2 separate regions of the Homo sapiens genome follow, and region 2 is linked to region 1. The links are contacts of gene promoters, found by promoter capture Hi-C in human tissues and cell types (Jung and others, 2019). All regions are on one chromosome and are shown on one strand. The core of a region is centred on a gene start or on the middle of the fragment in contact, and the rest is flanking DNA. Distances in the headings are between cores, read along the strand shown. Region 1 holds the start of PIK3CG (phosphatidylinositol-4,5-bisphosphate 3-kinase catalytic subunit gamma). Region 2 has its middle 38 kb from the start of CTB-30L5.1.

What was found. The method cuts DNA at HindIII sites, captures the fragments that hold promoters and counts their contacts. A contact is called where the count stands out against the background at its distance.
Region 2: a fragment that was not itself captured here is called in contact with the fragment with the promoter of PIK3CG in region 1 in 1 of the 25 tissues and cell types used here (bladder).

What each region holds. Positions count from the first base shown.
Region 1 is chr7:106,859,807-106,866,764 of GRCh38, reverse strand. PIK3CG (phosphatidylinositol-4,5-bisphosphate 3-kinase catalytic subunit gamma) reads right to left here and starts at 1,483. Exons shown (of 11, transcript NM_001282426.2): 1 at 1,339-1,483. RefSeq lists an enhancer at 1,312-1,411 and a silencer at 3,907-4,201. The HindIII fragment of the contact is 7,545 bases long and covers 1-6,912 here.
Region 2 is chr7:106,558,143-106,564,409 of GRCh38, reverse strand. No RefSeq gene overlaps it. Among named protein-coding and RNA genes, the nearest start is that of CTB-30L5.1, 38 kb to the left of the region's middle. The HindIII fragment of the contact is 4,989 bases long and covers 1,644-6,267 here.

The DNA.
Region 1 (6,958 bases), core at 234-2,733:
TATGTAAAATTTTGAATCATGGAATTTGTCAGCATTCTGGCTGTCACTGCTATATTAGGGCAGTATCTTAGAAGAGTCACCCAAGGCTGTACTCTCCCAATAGGAACATTTAGGTAATTTTAACATTGTTTAATTAATTAATTAAAATTCATTTGATCTGTCTCTACTTAATAATGGAGGAGCTACAGGATGGAAGGCAGGATTTCTGGACTCCAGTGACCTTCTGTTAAGACCCCCAATCATTTAACTTCTTTTTTGCTCTAATATTTTCATTTTTGTAACACAAATTCACAAATTTATTCTCATTAACCTACTCACTCTTTCCACAAAATTCAGTAAGTACCTACCCTTCACAAAGCACTTATGTATAAATAGGACATACTGCAATAGGAAATCCTTCAAATAATAATTGAAATTTGAAAGGTATTAACACTGAAAGATTAGGTATTTTGCTTTCAATGTTTAGTATCACTACATTGTAATACATTATATTCTAAACGAATCAATTATTGAAACAAAAAATTAATGTTTCAGAAAATATCGTTTACTCTCTTAAATAACTAATGTTAGACTTAAAACTACATTATTTCCTTAAGAAATAGTGGAGCATTTGATGTATACCAAAAAGGAGAGCTTGATAAGAAGATAAGAAAGACAAATTTCATTTGATCCAAACTTATGTTCAAATCTTGGCTTAACTTTTAAAACCAATATTCCCTCTCTTAAAATATGAAGTTATACTTAGTAAGTGAAACCAACTGTCCCAAAGAACTGTCTCTTGTGGCTTAAAACATTCATTTTGGTCTTTTGCTACATTATAGAATAACTAACAAAGAAGAGAACTGTAAGATACATTGATATTGACACTAACTTGAAATAAAACATGTCCAAATTTAGGCAGCATATAAATACACAGCAATAACTTCTGCCTCAGTGATACCAAACGATCTTATAAGATGCAGAGGAAAACAGGCTGACTAATACTCACTGGTTTCCTTCATGGTTGAGGCTATGAAGCTTTCCCCTTTTATGAGAAGATGTTGGAAACACTGTAAGTACAGTAATCTTGAAGCATGCACTTGTAGGAATATGAAGCCTGGCTGCCGTGCCCTCCCTTTTCCTCCCAAAACAAAAACAAAAATGTGATGCACCTGCAAAACTATTGCCGGAACGTTGTAGATATCCACAATACAGGTTGGACTAGACAATGAAACACAGACATTCGGTGGTAGTATCATCTCAAGAACCGACAACAGTTTCAGATAATCTAGCCGAGAAGGAAGTGCCACTATTCCGAGTCAGACCCCACAAAGAGCAAAAAATAGAAGGAAGCAATACCTGATAAAGCAGCGGAGGCGATGATGCTGAAGGATCATTTGTTTAATTTTTGAAAACAAAACAAATTCAAACCTACCCAGTGTGCGTCTAAATTCTTCCGCTTTTCTGGGGCTCCCTTCATATCCAGATGCAGAGGAAGTGTTGCAGTTACCAGGAAGGAAGTTTTAACCAAGTTGATTATACGTGTGATTGCTCATTTTAAAAGTGTCAGAAATGCATTTCCTGTTTTAGCATAGAGAGGGTAGGAGTATGAGACTGAGCAATGTTTACCATGGTTTTTCTTTTCTTTTTTTTTTCTCTTTGAACTAATTTTTCAAAAATTGTGATACTGAGACAAAATGACATAAATCCAAACCAAAATTACCCATTATGAGACATAAACATATGAAATATCTTTGTAGCTAGTTCTAAGAGCCACAGTATTAGGTATCCTATTAGGAAGACTTTTACCAGTCAAATTAAACTCATTCCCCTCCTGGGAATTCAAAAGAATCCTTGTTCGCACATGCTAACTGAGGGGTGGGGGAAGAGAAACCTAGTCATCTTGAGGACTAAGTTATCAAGCTGAAAATTTTTAAAGGCATGGTCTGCAAGCTCACTTCCTTAGCTTGGTGAGAGCTTTCTCTATTTTTTCAGAGCATTTGGGGCCTAAAATATCACTGGCTCAAACTGAAAGCACTGCAGCATGTGCATGTGTGTATATAAATGTGACATACTGCAGTAAGTAACCCTTCAAATAATGGTTGAAATGCTAAAAGTATTAAAATTGAAAGATGAATAAAAAGGTATTTTGATTTTAATACTAAGTACCACTACATTGTAACACATTATATTCCAAACAAGGATCAACTATTGAAACAAAAATTAATGCTTCAGAAAATATCCTGTGTTGAGGATGGAGCCTTACTGTCAGCAATGACTGATTAATTAACTGTAGACAAAACAGAAGGAGGTTGCCTGTTATCATGGGGAAATTGGGGAGCTGAACACTGTTACAGCATCAGGCAGATTCCATCCTGGGAGGTGGCCCCTGATTCCTATGGGAGTAGAGAATGCATAGAAAAGCCATCCTGAATCATTTTTAGAGTAGCGTTGTATCTTCCAGGTGACCTCAGTTCTTTCTAGAACCTCCAAGCATCCTGAACCAGCGCCCCCTCCCTCCATCTCAGAATTCCCTATGCTAGAGTTCATCCTCCAATCGGGGTGTTGAGGGACTCCAGCTGAGCTTCAAGGGCAGCAGATAGAATGGAGTTGACCTCACAAGTCTCTTGGAGGTATGTAATTAAGAGTTCCTCTGAATTACTCTGATATTGAGATAAATGATTGATTTGACTTATTTCCTTTTACATATGCCTCTTGGGTTTTAACTTTTAAATAGCACTCTAATAGTTGACATCAGCAGGCAAATAATTTAATTCAAAGGCTGCCTCCCAAATATTTAGAGGGGTCTTATCAGCTTCTCAAAGTATATTCCTATATAGGAATACTCCCTTAGGAGGCTGGCAGCTTTAGAAGCACCAAGGCTAGCTTTCTTGGTTGGTCCTGAGGGAAGATCAACACACTGTAGCCACCAAGCCATGATGTGAGAGCTTGCCAAGCTGTGTTTTACCCAGAGTGTGTGGGAGGGTTCCTGGGGGTGGGTGGAGTGGGAGGAGGTTTGAGGGTGGGAGGGCTGACCTCAGAGGGACCATGAGCTTGGCCAGCCCTGTTCCCCAGACCATTCAATAGATCCCTTCCCTGTCCTGGCTCAGTCACTTCCAGGGGGCCAAGTCCCAATCTGGCACTGCACATACACACACACATGCCACATTATTCCAGAAACACGAGACTCAGCCTCTTGGCCCTGCCTGCTTCTGAAGGAACTATTAAGCTAAGTTTGATTAGGCAAAGGATTTTCTGTTTTATGACTAAACTGGCAAATATGTCAGGTTTATTGGTGGCTTGAGATTAAAAGTACCCTGCTCTTCCCCAAATCTTAATATAGCCACTAAAATTTGACTATCTGTAGTAAATGTTCCCAGTAAGAAGTAATGGCAAAGATTTCCTTCCTCTGTGGATACTTCCTCCGTGTAGAGGCATCCTTTACGAGTAAGAATATTTTATATCCCCAGAATATTTAGAAGACCTTCAGTCCTCATTAATATCCCATTTTAATAATATTTTTCCCTTCTGTGAATCTGTGGACACAGAAATCATTTTGGTTGGGAAAAAAAACACAATCAAAGGCTCTGACCTTCTATATCATATCAGTGGTCACAGCAATGACAAGATAGAACAGTTTAGAAAATAAGAACACAGTAGGAAGTATCAGTGATCAATAGACATTAAAAATTATTTGTTTTGAGGAAGGCTCTTTCCAACAGCCTTCAGAGAGATTATTTATGGTCTACTTGGAGAGACAGAACATGCAGAGGAAAGAATAACATGTGCAATGCGTTAGCATATGCAGTCCAAGCGGTTTAATTGTGTGATGTAACTTTCATTATGCAAGCCAACAGTTTACTGGAGGAGTTCACTTTGGGTGAGATTTGAAAATTTTTGTTTTAAATGTGCAGGGGAAGGTCCAGGATTCAAGGCAAGAGGAATCACAGGGGCAAGTCCTCAAGCCAGAAGGCATCTGTGGGACAGTGAACAGATCAGTTCACTGAAATGGAGAGTCTGAGAAAGATAGCAGTGTGAGAGACAGGGAGAGACATGGCCAGACAAGTGTGTGCTTCCCATACGTATTTCATGTGTTGCCACATGTAAATAGTGGTGACATGTGTATGGCACACTGGGGTGAACTGAGGAAGCTCCTCAAAGCGTGAGACAACGGGTGCATCCCCAAGGACCTCACCGCTTTGGGCATACTGGCTGGGAACTCTGTTATTGGTTATTTACTGTTGGAGTAGCTATGTCACTCAGACTCGAGGGAATCTTTCATCTTGAAAAAACATGATCATCTTGTCATATTTTTTTTTAGCTCAGCTTCAGATGATTTATACATTGTGATAAAAATGCAAAAAGGCATTTTAATCTAATCTGACAGTTTAGTTCACCTTCATACCTTGCTTTGTTGTCCGAGCACAAAGGCAAACCTTTATGAAGCTGTGCCTGATATTTTTTGGTCTGTATTTGGTAAGATTTAAGAGAAGCATCCTGGTATTGTAGAAACACACACATTCATGAGACCTAGGTTTATTTCTGCACATTCTTTAGGCCTCATATATGCCCCTTCATTTCTTTTGGCTTCCTAATCTACCAAATGATAACAACCACCCTACATATTTCACAGGAAGTTGTTATAAATCTTCAGTTTTCAATGGAACAAAAACTTATCTCACCGTACTATGTAAGATATTATGTTAGATGACTCTAGAAGGTACAGAATTCCAGGTGTCAAACACCAACACGACACACAGAGGAAGAAGAGTCCATGCCATCTTGTGTGTTTCTTTTTCAGAGAGAGGAAGACTTTCCCAAAGGTCTTCTGGGTCCCCTTATGTCTCTGGCCAGAATTGTGGCAAGGGCGCATTGATACCTCAGCCAATCAATAGGAAAGGGGATAGAATTATGTGAATGGTTTAAGCTAATCAGAATTTGTCCCCTGAGTTCTGGCTGGCTAGAGAGTGGTGGACACCAGAACCAAATGTCAGGGCTCTGACTGTAAGGACAAATGGGATTAGGGAGGATTGTAGGAGACTGTACCACAGTCTTGATGCCATTAGGAATGTAGGCTATTATTATGCCATGTGGGTGGAGGGGAGCCACTTCAGGTTCTGAGAAAAGAAGCTATGGGAAATCAGTCACAGTCAACACAACTCCATGGACCTACAGCCAGATCTAGGTCCCTATGGGACCTTCCACTTTGTTCTCCATTCTTAGTATCAGAAACTGACCATTGAGCACATTTTTCTGTTTCCTTGTTTAGTTAAACTTTGACAATACATAGTAGTAAGCACTTCACAAATTTCTGGAAAAGATTTTTCTATAAATTGGTTTTTAAAAATCCAAAATCTTTGCGTGATACTTTATTTTTATTTTATTTTTTATTTTTGAGACAGAGTCTAGCTCTGTCTCCCAGGCTGGAGTGCGGTGGTGTGATCTCAACTCACTGTAACCTCCACTTGCCAGGTTCAAGTGATTCTCCTGCCTCAGCCTCCCGAGTAGCTGGGATTATAGGCATGCGCCACCATGCCCAACTAATTTTTGTATTTTTAGTATAGACTGGGTTTCACCACATTGGCCAGCCTGGTCTTGAACTTCTGACCTCAAGTTATCCACCTGCCACAGCCTCCAAAAGTGCTGAGATTACAGGTGTGAGCCACCACACCTGGCCTGCATAATACTTTAGACCTTTTATGATTTATCCCTTATGAACTATCCTTAACTCTTTCTTCCAGATTCTCCTCTTCCAATTCCCTTCCATGATTGAATTCCACCAATTTCTGCTTTCATACCTTCTGTGTTCCACCACACCTCTGTGCCTCTGTGTGCCACTCCCTATGTCCTATTCCCTCCCCTCATTCTCTCTCCTCTCCCTCCCCCTTCTCTCATCCCCTCAGCCATTTGACCAGCTCCTGCTTCATTGGTATTCAGAGTGAGTAACCTCCACTGAGAGGGCTTTCTGGTCAGGAAAGCATAGGGTTAGGGAAGCTTTCTCCCAATAGTAACCACCACAATAACAATATCACCACCAATAAGTGGAAGCTCTTCTTTAGGGAAGGGTCTCACTCTGTTGCTCAGGCTGGAGTACAGTAGTGCAATCTCAGCTCACTGCAGGCTTGACCTCCCGGGCTCAAGTGATCCTCCCATCTCAGCCTCTCAAGTAGCTGGAACTACAGGTGTGAGCCTCCATACCCGGCTAATTTTTTGTATATTTACTAGAGATGAGATATTGCCATGTTGCCCTGGCTGGTCTGGAACGCCTGGGTTCAAGTGATCTGCCTGCCTTGGCCTCCCAAAGTGTTGAGATTACAGGCGTGAACCACTGTGCCTGGCTCACAAACTCTTTTATGGCACTTTCTTTGAGTCTTACGTTGATCTAAGAACTTTAGTACATTCATTCATTTAATCCTCACATCCTTCCAAGGGGAGAGGCACTACTATTGTCTCCACTTACAGGTGCTAAAAGCAAGGCACAGAGAAGTTGAGTGGCTTGCCCTTGGTGCCACAGGTGGTAAGTGGCAGTCATCATAGCACTTCTCCTGGGTGAGGACAGCTGGTGACTGGGCTGCCTCCTCTACCCGACTGGGTTCTTTGAGTGACTGCTCTGTATTGACTCGCTGTATTCCCCAGAGCTTAATACAGTGCTTGCCACATACAAAGCCAAGGCCTTGATAAATGTTGGTGGAATGGTTAGTTTGTATAGAGTCTCTCTTTTTGGAAGCCATTGGATTCCTTTGTATTTACAGGAAGCAATGGGAGTACTGAGTGATATTCGCAAAGCCTCCCAGACTAACCAAAACCCAGACAGCCCCTCCCTTCCATGTAACCATGTAACGTAAAACTCTCCAATCTGCCTCCTCTTCAAACCTTGCAATGTGAAACTTGGGAGGAAAATGGTCTGTAGGGTGTGGAACTTAGGAGGGAACCTAGTTTGACATTATAAGAAACCACAATCCTTTAGAAACATCTCCTT
Region 2 (6,267 bases), core at 2,889-5,388, 310 kb after region 1:
TTTTCCCCCAGACTAACACCCTCTCTGTTGGCTAAGATCGGATTTGTACATTCGTTTATATGAAGTTTCCCTAAATAGATAAAATCCAAATCTCCTGAGCTATACCCACTGCTGGGAAATCAAAAGCCTGGATTATAGCTTAATTAAGCTTAATCATTTAATTAAGTTTAATTGGTTCATTCATGTACCAAAAGCCATGAGCACTTGCTACATGACATGCAGGGGTGACATGCTTGGCACACACACCCAACTCCTCAGTCCCCAGCTCTTGATCTCATTCAATAACCAAAGTCAGCCTGCTCTTGGATGACACTGATGAGGCTCTCTGTGCCTGAGTCTTCCTAGTCTGCTCTGTGCGTTGTGGTTATGCCAACACAAGGGTAGTTTCTGCTCTCTTAACACCATCTTTCTCCACTATATACCAGAATCTGGGCTGGATTCTCCTCTTTTTAGAAATTTTTCAGAGCCTCTGGGGTGAGTCATGTGCTTTTAACTCTTGGCTGCTATTCTCTTAAGTGGGTTCTCTGCTTCTCCCTAAGGAATGCAGGGTAGCAACTACTACCCTTTGGGTCCAAATATGGTGGATCTCATTATGAGCCTCAAAGTTCTCCTCAAAGGACCCAGAGGAAGATGGGTTTAAGAGTTCTTGTGAAAATGGTCTGGGCAAGTGTCCAAATTAGATCCAACCTGTAACCTTAAATAAACAGTAGAAAGAGGAGACTAGTTGCACCCAGTGTGTGGAAAGCCTTAGGCTTGATGTTGAATCTCTACAGGCTGAGTGTTGTTCTCAGAGATGCTGGCATCGTGCCAGTGGGCAAATGAAGTCAATACGTCTTATTTCTGGTGATGCTAACTTTGATTACTCCCTTAAGGTTGTGTCTGCCAGGCTTCTCCACTGTAAAATTGATATTTTCCTCCTTGTAATTAACAAATACTTGCACAAAGATACGTTGAAACTATCTAAACGTTCTGTTTCTTATACTCTTACCCATTAATTTTAGCATCCATGGATAGATTTTACCTGTGACAAGTATTACATTGGTGTTTATTTCTAATAATAAATGTCTAAAAAAATCTAAAATAACTTTCTTCAATTTTCTATTTGATCATTCTACAAGAAAGATTTTGTACTTTCTGTGTCCTCTCTTTTAAGCACTAGATGTGATGATTTGAGGTCTGGCTGATTGCCTTCTTTAACTGATTTGCGTCACTTCAGCAGCTGTGCTTATCACACAGGTTCTACCCCAAAAGAGTGAGTTTGTGTTCTTGTGCCATTGACTTTTATCTCCCTTCAGCTTTCAGAGGACTCCAAATAATAATTGAGGCCGGCTGGCCTGCCTGCCTGCCTGCCTTCTTTCCTTCCTTCCTTCCTTCCTTCCTTCCTTCCTCTTTTCCTCCCTCTCTCTCTCCCTCACTCCCTCCCCTCCCTCACTCCCTCCCTCCCCTCCCCCCTCTCTCCCCTCCCTCCCTTCCTTTCCTTCCTTTTGACAAGGTCTCACTCTGTCTCTCAGGCTGGAGTGCAGTGCAGTGGTATGATCACAGCTCACTTCAGCCTTGACCTCCTGGGCTCAAGTGATCCTCCTGCTTTAGCCTCCCAAAGTGCTGGGATTAAAGGCTCAATTGGGTTTCGAATGAGAAATTGTCACATTTTTAGCCCAGTAGCCCACTGTCTAGCTGTGTGTCAATATGAACAGGAGCAGTCTCAGGGGTCTTGAGTTCAGTTAGAAACCTGAACACACATGAAGGGTGCTTTAGGATCCTGGAGGGTGGTCAGCAAGTCGTGGAGAAGTACAAAATGCTGCAGGCTGCAAAACTGGCTTGGAAGTGCCAGGGCACTTGAATTTCCCTCTGAGTTTTTCAGGATCTATTCCTTAGCCAAGATGGGAGTACAGTAAATGCTGGCCTATCTATCCACAACTTGAGACTTCTATGTGGATGTTTCCTTAGGCTTGAGATGAATGAAGAGAACCAACCAATCTCTAGCCTGGAGATAGTTCTTGTATTAGGGTTTTCTAGAGACACACAGACCAGTAAGATATATTTATATATCTAGAAAGAGATTTAGTATAAGGAATTGGCTCACGCCATCAATGGAGGCTAAGTCCCAGGATCTGCTGCCTGCAAGCTGGAGGCCCAGGAAGGCCTGAGGGGGTAGTTCCAGTCTGAGTCCGAAGGCCTGGGAACCAGAAATGCTGACTGTGTAAGTCCCAGTCTGAGGGCAAGAGAAGACTGATGTCCCAGCTCAAGCAGTTCATCAGAGGGAGGGAATTCTCCCTTCCTTCCTTCACCTTTTTGTTCTATTTGGATCCTCAATAGATTGAATGATACCCACACACATTGGGGAGGGCCATTTGCTTTACTCAGTTTACTCAGTCTACCTATTCAGACATTCATCTCTTCTGGAAACACCCTCACAGACACACCTAGAAATAATGTTGAGCCAAATCTGGGCACCCATTTCCCAGTCAAATTGATACCAAGTTAACCATTGCGGTTCCCAAGTTTGTGTGCTGTTCCTGTTATATACTCTGGTAACTATATCAATTTCTAGAAGAGACATAGCTCAAACAGGCCCATTACTCAGATGGGCACCAGGGAAAGGCCTGCCTAAATCACAGGAAACTGAGATGAGCACCCAGGAAATGTGGCTAAGACACTGCTTTTCAATTTGAATGTGCTCAGGAATTTCCTAGCGATCCTAGTAAAGTGAATATTTTTATTCAGCAGGTCTGGGTTGGGACCTGAAATTTTGCATTTCTACAGAGTTTTCACATGACGCTCGTGCTTCTGGTCTGAGGACCACACTTTGAGTAGATAGAATTAAAGGACATGGAGAAGTCTGAATGTTAAAAAATATGTTATCCAAAAAGTATCTGAAGCACCACTATCCACCACTATCTTTCTTTCTAGAATTTTTGTACCCATAAGAACAGGGAGAATTCCATCACTTTTGGCAGGAAGAAAGGTTGGGGATCAGGCTCAATGCACATTGTGATTTCATTGCAGAATATAGTAAAATGGGGCAAGCCAGCAGAACAGGGCTTAGATGACTCAGTGGGTCTTTCCAGCTTGCCCCATATTCATCAAGAACCTGCTTGTGTAAAGGTATTAAACAAGTGTGGAGACTTCCTAGGAAAGCTTTGTACTTATCTACTTTTTTCTGCAACAAAATATGAATGAGTGTTCACACAGATGATACCCCCATGGTCATGTGCAAGGGTTAAACACAATTTCCCATACAGTGGCCATAAATGCACCCCTTTCTCTCCCACTTAAAAGGAAAGTCAATATACAAATGAATGAGATAAATAATGTTGAATATCCTCTTTAAATATTTGCAATTGTTGGTACCTTAAACCATTAGTAACACATTATAGCATACCTCAGAACTGATTGTGGCACATCAATGTGTCACTTCAAAATGGGTGAGAAGCACTGGCCTAGAACTTACCTGGTGTGCCTGGCAAAGCCACCTGTGCTGGACACAGATTCTGGAACATGAGCCTGGGCCTCATGGCTGCCTTTATCCACCTTCGGAATAGCCTATAATGGTAATGGTATAGGTTCTATGCTGTCCAGTATGGTAGCCACTGCCTATAATTGCAATGAGGGTCACATATCACATAATGCCATTTTTTTTTCCAGTTGTGTGAGTCACTTGAGATTATGGCAGTTGTTGATAGACCACAAAATCAACCATGCCCTTCTTCACCTCAGCCAGCCAGCTAAAGTGAAAAAGGGCATGGCTACTGAGCATTTGAAAGGTGACTAGTCCAAAGTGAGATGCACTGTCAGTATAAAATAACACGAATTTCCAAAACGTAGTATGGCTTCCAAGATGGCTGAATAGGAACAGCTCCAGTCTGCAGCTCCCAGGGAGATCGATGCGGAAGATGAGTGATTTCTGCATTTCCAGCTGAGGTACCTGGTTCATCTTGTTGGGACTGGTTGAACAGTAGGTGCAGCCCATGGAGGGCGAGCTGAAGCAGGATGGGGCATCACCTCACCCAGGAAGCACAAGGGGTTGGGGGAGGGATTTCCCTTTTCTAGCCAAGGGAAGCTGTGACAGACTGTACCTGGAGAAACAGTACACTGCTGACCAAATACTGTGCTTTTCCCACAGTCTTAGCAACCTGCAGACCAGGAGATACCCTCCTGTGCCTGACTTGGTGGGTCCCACGCCCACAGAGCCTTGCTCACTGCTAGCACAGCAGTCTGAGATCGACCTGCGATGCTGCTGCTTGATGCAGTGAGGGGCGTCCACCATTGCTGAGGCTTGAGTAGCTCACAGTGTAAACAAAGAGGCCAGGAAGTGCAAACTGGGTAGAGCCCACCACAGCTCAGCAAGGCCTACTGCCTCTATAGATGCCATCTCTGGGGGCAGGGCATAGTAGAACAAAAGACAGAAAACAACTTCTGCAGACTTAAACGTCCCTGTCTGACAGTTCTGAAGAGAGCAGTGGTTCTCTTAGCATGGTGTTCAAGCTCCAAGAACAGATAGACTGCCTCAAGTGGGTCCCTGACTACCGTATAACCTGACTGGGAAACACCTCCCAGTAGGAGCCGACAGACACCTCAAACAGGAGGGTACCCCTCTGGGATGAAGCTTCCAGAGGAAGGATCAGGCAGCAATATTTGCTGTTCTGCAGTCTCCACTGGTGATATCAAGGCAAACAGGGTCTTCCAGCAAACTCCAACAGACCTGCAGCTGAGGGGTCTCTTAGAAGGAAAACTAACAAACAGAAATGAATCGCATCAACATCAACAAAAAAGATGTGCACTCACAGACCCCATCTGAAGGTCACCAACATCAAAGACCAAAGATAGATAAAACCACAAAGATGGGGAGAAACTAGAGCAGAAAAACTGACAATTCCAAAAAACAGGGTCTTTTCCTCCAAAGGATCACAGCTCCTTGCCAGCAAGGGAACAAAACTGGACAGAGAATGAGTCTGATGAGTTGACAGAAGTAGGCTTCAGAAGGTCGGTAATAACAAACTTCTCTGAGCTAAAGGAGTGTGTTCTAACCCATCGCAAAGAAGATGAAAAACCTTGAAAAAAGGTTAGACGAATGGCTAACTAGAATAAACAGTGTAGAGAAGACCTTAAATGACCTGATGGAGCTGAAAACCACAGCATGAGAACTTTGTGACGCATGCACAAGCTTCAACAGCCAATTCAATCAAGTGGAAGATCAGTGATTGAAGATCAAATTAATGAAATAAAGCAAGAAGACAAGATTAAAGAAAAAAAGCATGAAAATAAACGAACAAAGCCTCCAAGAAATATGGGACTATGTGAAAAGACCAAATCTACGTTTGATTGCTGTACCGGAAAGTGACAGGGAGAATGGAACCAAGCTGGAAAACACTCTTAAGGATATTATCCAGGAGAACTTCCCTAACCTAGCAAGGCAAGCCAACATTAAATTCAGGAAATTACAGAGAACACAAAGATACTCCTTGAGAAGAGCAACCCCAAGACACATAATTGTCAGATTCACCAAGTTTGAATGAAGGAAAAAAGGACAGCCAGAGAGAAAGGTCAGGTTACCCACAAAGGGAAATCCATCACACTAACAGCGGATCTCTCGGCAGAAACCCTACAAGCCAGAAGAGACTGGGGGCCAATATTTAGCATTCTTAAAGAAAGGAATTTTCAACCCAGAATCTCATATCCAGCCAAACTAAGCTTCATAAATGAAGGAGAAATAAAATCCTTTACAGACAAGCAAATGCTGAGAGTTTTTGTCACCACCAGGACGGCCTTACAAGAGCTCCTTAAGGAAGCACTAAACATAGAAAGGAATAACCAGTACCAGCCACTGCAAAAACATGCCAAATGGTAAAGACCATCGTTGCTATGAAGAAACTGCATCAATTAATGGGCAAAATAACCAGCTAACATCATAATGATAGGATCAAATTCAAACATAACAATATTAACCTTAAATGTAAATGGGCTAAATGCCCCAGTTGAAAGACAAAGACTCGCAAATTGGATAAAGAGTCAAGACCTATCAGTGTGCTGTGTTCAGGAGACCAATCTCATGTGCAAAGATGTACATAATCTCAAAATAAAGGGATGGAGGAAGATCTGCCAAGCAAATGGAAAGTGAAAAAAAATTAAAAAAAAAAAGCAGGGGTTGCAATCCTAGTCTCTGATAAAACAGACTTTAAACCAACAAAGATCAAAAGAGACCAAGAAGGCCACTACATAATGATAAAGGGATCAATTCACCAAGAAGAGCTAAGTATTCTAAATATA